2 separate regions of the Homo sapiens genome follow, and region 2 is linked to region 1. Evidence: promoter capture Hi-C in 16 types of primary human blood cells and fetal thymus (Javierre and others, 2016). All regions are on one chromosome and are shown on one strand. The core of a region is centred on a gene start or on the middle of the fragment in contact, and the rest is flanking DNA. Distances in the headings are between cores, read along the strand shown. Region 1 holds the start of ZNF507 (zinc finger protein 507). Region 2 has its middle 3.2 kb from the start of ZNF536-AS1.

Region 1 (2,780 bases), core at 195-2,694:
TTGCAGAAGTTAGGAAAAAATAGCTCTGGAAACTTCTCCCAATAATTGTGTATTTTGTTTTACCTCAGAATTTAGGTACTGGACTCAACACTATTGGTTTTACTGACAACATTTTCTAATGAGAATGGAACAATAAATTGCACATTGCTATTTTAATCTAAACTAAAAATACAATCTAACGAGTGATTCTGCAACCAAGCACAATAGGCAGAAAAACAGCATAAAAAGATATGACACAGTGGTGTGACCTATATATCTTCTAACGCAGTTTCCTACTCTGGTCCTACATTTCTTTGCCACTGTTTCTTATACTGGCTGGAATAAATCTAAAAGATAAAAAAATGCTTATTCGTTTCACCTAGAATGCAACTACCTTATCGATTACGGTTAAGTAAAATAGCTCACTGCCAGGGCAGAAAAAACATCTTTAGGGCTCCCCTGAAGTTAATTTTCAACGAGTTAGTGAGGTAAAGGAATGAAGGGCCAGGCTTTCTTTTAATCAATAATGCAACCCATACTCTGAGTGAGAGGGGAGTACTGGAGAAAGTGCAAACTCAAAGAGGTGATAAATCCAGTAATTGCCTGAGAAGAGCGATGCAGACTGATAGCAAATTACAGCCCACTGCAGAAACTTAAAAATACCGCCTTGGGGTTGGGAAAGTGGCCGCCACCTTATTAATCATCCCGGCCTTCTACACAAACCATTCATTCCGATGCCCCCAGGTCTTAAGAGGTGGGAACTTTCCCTGATGGTCTCCGTGATCTCTGGAGACATCATTCTATCTCCAGAGGATGGTAATAAATGCAGAAGACCAGGGCTGCGTTTCTGTAGTAGCTTTTTCTACACCACGCACTGGCTAAAGGACTGAGGTGATGGGTCGGGAATGAGGGAGCTTAGAAAATTAATCAAAAGATGCTGTGAGAACATCGTGGCTGGGTCCATCCCGGCTGGCCTAAGCGATCTCACATTTGCAGAAAGAAGCAACGCCTGGAGAAGGAAGCAACGCCTGCGGGCGGGCCGGGCTGGTGACAGTATGCAGGGAGCAGCAAGTTCCCCCCACCCCCAGCTGCAGGGCAAGCCCAGAGTCTCCGCAGGCCTTGCTGCACAGAAGACAGAACCGGGACACGGAACTTGGGGCTTGTGGCTAGCACCGGGCGGGGGTCGGCCGGCTGAGGAGGAAGCGAGCGCCGGCAGAGGCCTGAGGGGAGGATGCACATGGCCGGCGGCGGCGCTAACAGCGGGCGGAGGGGCGGCCCCGGGGCGCGGTACCTGCGGTCAGGCGGCGGCTGCTGCTTCCGCGAGCCTCGTTTGGCCAGCCAGGACCCGGCCGTGCCCTCGCCCTCGTCCTTGCCCACCTCTCTCCCGGCTCTTTTCCCTCTTTTCCCCCGGTTTCCCCCTCCTCATCCGGAGCTCCAAAATGGCGGCGCTGGGGACGGATCACGTGAGCCGCGGGTGGGTCAGGTGACCCGAATGGCGGGCAGCGGGGGCGGGGCGAGGCTCAGGCCCCGCCTACCGGCGTCCCGGGCCGCCGAGGCTGGACCCGCGAGAGGGAGGCTCCCCAGCCGGTTTAGCCCCTTGCAAACCCTGGCTCCCGGGCGGGGTTCGGGCCCAGTTGTCTGGCTCTCATGGCCCCTTCCAGACGTCTAGATTTAGAAGTCACCGTGTATTCACTTTGGCATCTCCCCACGTCGCCTAAATCCGCTGTGGGCTAGCCTTATCACCCCACTCACCCCGCAATTGGCTTTCAACAATGGGCATTGGGGTTTTTTTTTTTTTTTTCTTTAGCCTTGTGCTTCTGGATTTGTATTAGTTCCTTTGGTAGGACTGTACATTTCAAGGTGTTCTTGGCTAAAATATAGAGGTCCTAGCCAGATTCGCAGCTTGGCGTTAAGGGGTGCCTGTTAAGGGCCAGAGCTGGCCCTGGGGAATCTCTTTGCTTGAGAGATTCAGGATTTTCAGGGTTTGTAGGACCAGACCCAGTAACACAAGCTCAGCCCTCCGAGGGCACGATGGTGTTTGTCATTCGGATCTGTTCTATGAAAGATACTAGGGTGGTTCTCCTGCTAACAGTGAAAAACGGACTAAGTGAAGCATTCCAGCCAATTTCACCAAAAATGCTGGATAGTTTTGCCGTATTAGGAACTACGCAGCATGGTGCTTGGGTCTGGACTCCGGGTGAGCGGTGGGCATGAGCAAGGGTGTAAAACTGAAGATTCTGGCCATTGTAGTGGAATGGACTCATTTGGTGAGATACCTCTTGGGGATCTGTTCCAGATCTTTTTAGAGGCCTTTACAGCTGGCTGGGCTGTCCACGGTCCTGGGAGGAAGATCCAACAAAATTTAGAATCAGACAGGCTGATAATTCCTGTTACTGTATTTCAGAATTCAAATTCATCTGAATTTGGGGGTTAGGAAACCAGCAAAGTTAGAATTTTTATTTTTATTTTTATTTTATTTTTTTGAGTCAGAGTCTCACTCTCTCCCCAGGCTGGAGTGCAGGGGCGCAATCTCGGCTCACTGCAACCTCCACCTCCCAGGTTCAAGTGATTCTCCTGCCTCAGCCTCCCGAGTAGCTGGCACTACAGGGCGTGCCACCATGCCCAGCTAATTTTTTTGTATTTTTAGTAGAGACGGGGTTTCACCATGTTGGCCAGGATGGTCTCGATCTCTTGACATCATGATCCGCCCGCCTCAGCCTCCCAAAGTGCTGGGGTTACCGGCGTGAGCCACCGCGCCCGGCTGCAAAGTTAGAATTCTGCTATTCCACAGAATCCTTTGC
Region 2 (2,780 bases), core at 146-2,645, 1.7 Mb after region 1:
AACACACTATACAGGAGGCTTTTATTGACATCCCAGCTACAGAGGCAAGCTGGACAAGCTGAAAGTGCCTCCGAGTTCATATTTAGAGCTCAAGCTGGCCTCCACCCACGATGGGCAGCAATTTACCAGACAAAGGCAGCTTCCTCACCTCTCAGGTGGGGTCACTCTGAGGAGTGCTCTTCAGGTCCCAGAGCTCCCCAAAACTCCAACTGCCCACCTGGATTGAGGGCATACACTCCATTGGTTTCCTTCCCTTCCCAATACTCCATCAGTCACATGTCAAGTAAACCTGGATGCCCTGATTTCTTAACTCTGGCTCTGCTTCCTGAGAAATTAACCTGAGAGTAGGACCAGCCAAGGTCCACAAGAGAAGAGTCTTTCAGTCTTTTACCTGGCAGGAACAGCATCCTCTTTCACCTGACTCTATGCAACCACTCCCTCTCCATCCCCGGGCAGCCTGGGCACAGGGTGCATGGCACAGGATGCCCAGAACCAGCCCTAGCTCTGCTTACGGGACACAGAGTGATGCCTACGTGCCTTAAGGAGCACTGTGCCCTGAAAGCCTTCTCCACCCAGGCCCCTATCCCATCTCCTGCTGTCACCCCGCCAACCTGCTCCTCTCAGATAATATTTCCGAGTGCCTCAGCTCTGAAACACAATATCTGCCTCTTGGAGATGTGATGTGAGCTTTCACATCAGTTCCACCAAAAGTTAATTTCTGTGATGAATGCAATATACTCAAACCCATAAATCTGACCATCTGAAGGATTCAAATGGGGAATTATTGACAGCTGATGGAACCCAAGTGCGGAGATGAAGCTGCTTTTCTCATCTGTCCATCTAAATGTTGGAATGTGTATTGATTAAAATATGACTCGCTACAGAACCCAACATAAATCTAAACTCTATTAGATTAACACTAGCATTCAATTAACATAAAATGACAACGTAGGAGAAAAAGGCTGTGTGTCGGTCACCAGTAATATTTTACCTATAAACATGGGGAACCTGACATCGGGACGTGCGTCCGTGCACGGTTTGGGGTGGTGGGCACGCATGTGAGAGTTAGGTTGGGATGTGTGCCCCAGAGGCAGGAAGAGGTGACGAGATAGCAGGCTTAGGGGCACTGCAGGCTTCAGCCACAGGAGGAGAAAAGGGTGGCTGTGGCTGGTTGGCTTGACTCTTTTACTATTGCTTTTATTTAAGATGTGCCTGGGTGGCCAGGGCCATGGTGCTGTGCGGGCGATGTATGTGCCAGTCCCGTGGCAGGCACAGGGCGGGAGACCCGTCTACAAAAGGAAAATCTGAGTCAGCTTCTCAGACACAGAGAGAATGTTTTCAGTGGGTTCAGGACCCCAGCGTGGAGCAATGAAGATTTCCCCCAGGGAGAGGAGAGCAGAGATTTGAAGATGAACTGAAAAAATTCATATTGGAATCTAGGCAGAGGAAGACCAAGCAGAAAAGTGATGAAACAACAGTGATGTCATGTGTGCCCCTGAAGGGCCAGGCGCTGTGCTTGGCTTCTGCTCAGATCTGTCACTATTTCATGTCTCATAGGTCACACAGATCATACAGATCACCCTGGAAGGGTCCTAGGCGGGCTGGAACAGCTGACAGTGCAGATGAGGAAACGGAGGCTCGGAGAGGCTCGATTCTCATGTGACAGGGGCACTGGAGTCCTCACCCATTCCCCTGGGCCATCTCCTGCAGGCTGTTTCCACATATGCCAAAGCATATGGGGCTTTCTGGCCAAGGGGGTTCTCCAGTCATGGGCTCTTATTGGATTAAAGGGCCAAAGGGTGAACACCCCAGGAATACACTCAACCAAGACAGGATAGGGGCTGGCTTATAAACACCGCAGCTTTCTTGAGGTTGTCCACATAGTTCCTCGGAGGGTCCCAGCAGGAATAAGACTCCATTTCCCACAGGGATCACCTGCTTCAAAACACGCCTACATCTGCTCCCCCCACTCCCTCCTTGTACTTCCTGGGATCTTCTCTCCCTCCTCCCAAAAAACTGCCTGTGCCTAAATCCTTATCTTAGGGTATGATTCTGGAAGATTCCAAGCAAAGGACTAAAGTCACAGAACTCATAAGTGGTAGCAGAGAATTTGATGTGTTTGTTTTTTAAACCAGGCTTCTCATCATTCTCCCCCATGCTCTTACTAACAGATTCTTGAGCTAGGATTGGAGAGGAATGGGATTAAAACATCACTACAAAGAAGATGGAGGTTTGCAGACCCCATCTTTCAGATTTGACCTTGTTTGCTGTATGGACCCTGAAATATGCTTTGCTGTGGAAATAATGCCCCTTTTGTAATTGGGTGCCCAGGCTAGCTCTCAAAGCCCTCTTAGCATCTGGTTTACATGTTCACCAATTCGCTATTTCAAACGCATGCATTCTAATGTAAAATATTGCATGTAAGGGTACCAACTTGGGAATGCCAGAAACACACCTGAGCAACGGCAGCCCTGGGGTGGTCACTTAAGTCTCTATAACATCAGCACAATTATGGCCCCTCTGCACACACAGACTCCTCCAGGGGATGGGGCACCCCAACTGGCAGATCATTTGTAAGAAGTTCTGAATTGCAGAATAAAAGGGGAAGCTATTTTCTGTCTGTCTGGGTTCAGTTTCTCTGGCCAAGTAATCTATCTTGTTTTGAATAAAATATTATAGCAAGGAAAAAGAAACGTTGAGATGGGAATCGGGTGACCCAAGTGAAGGCCTGGACGGCCCCAGTGAGTGACATAGCCTTGGCTGAGTGGGCCGGGTCCCAG

The links. Contacts are between HindIII fragments. The CHiCAGO score rates a contact against its expected background, and 5 or more counts as called.
Region 2: a contact is called between a fragment that was not itself captured here and the fragment with the promoter of ZNF507 in region 1, in 1 of 17 cell types (endothelial precursors). The highest score is 6.1, in endothelial precursors.

The regions. Positions count from the first base shown.
Region 1 is chr19:32,344,274-32,347,053 of GRCh38, reverse strand. ZNF507 (zinc finger protein 507) reads right to left here and starts at 1,444. Exons shown (of 7, transcript NM_001136156.2): 1 at 1,271-1,444. RefSeq lists silencers at 1,271-1,460, 1,491-1,620. The HindIII fragment of the contact is 10,893 bases long and covers 1-2,780 here.
Region 2 is chr19:30,671,995-30,674,774 of GRCh38, reverse strand. It overlaps a transcript of ZNF536 not described here. Among named protein-coding and RNA genes, the nearest start is that of ZNF536-AS1, 3.2 kb to the right of the region's middle. The HindIII fragment of the contact is 7,406 bases long and covers 1-2,780 here.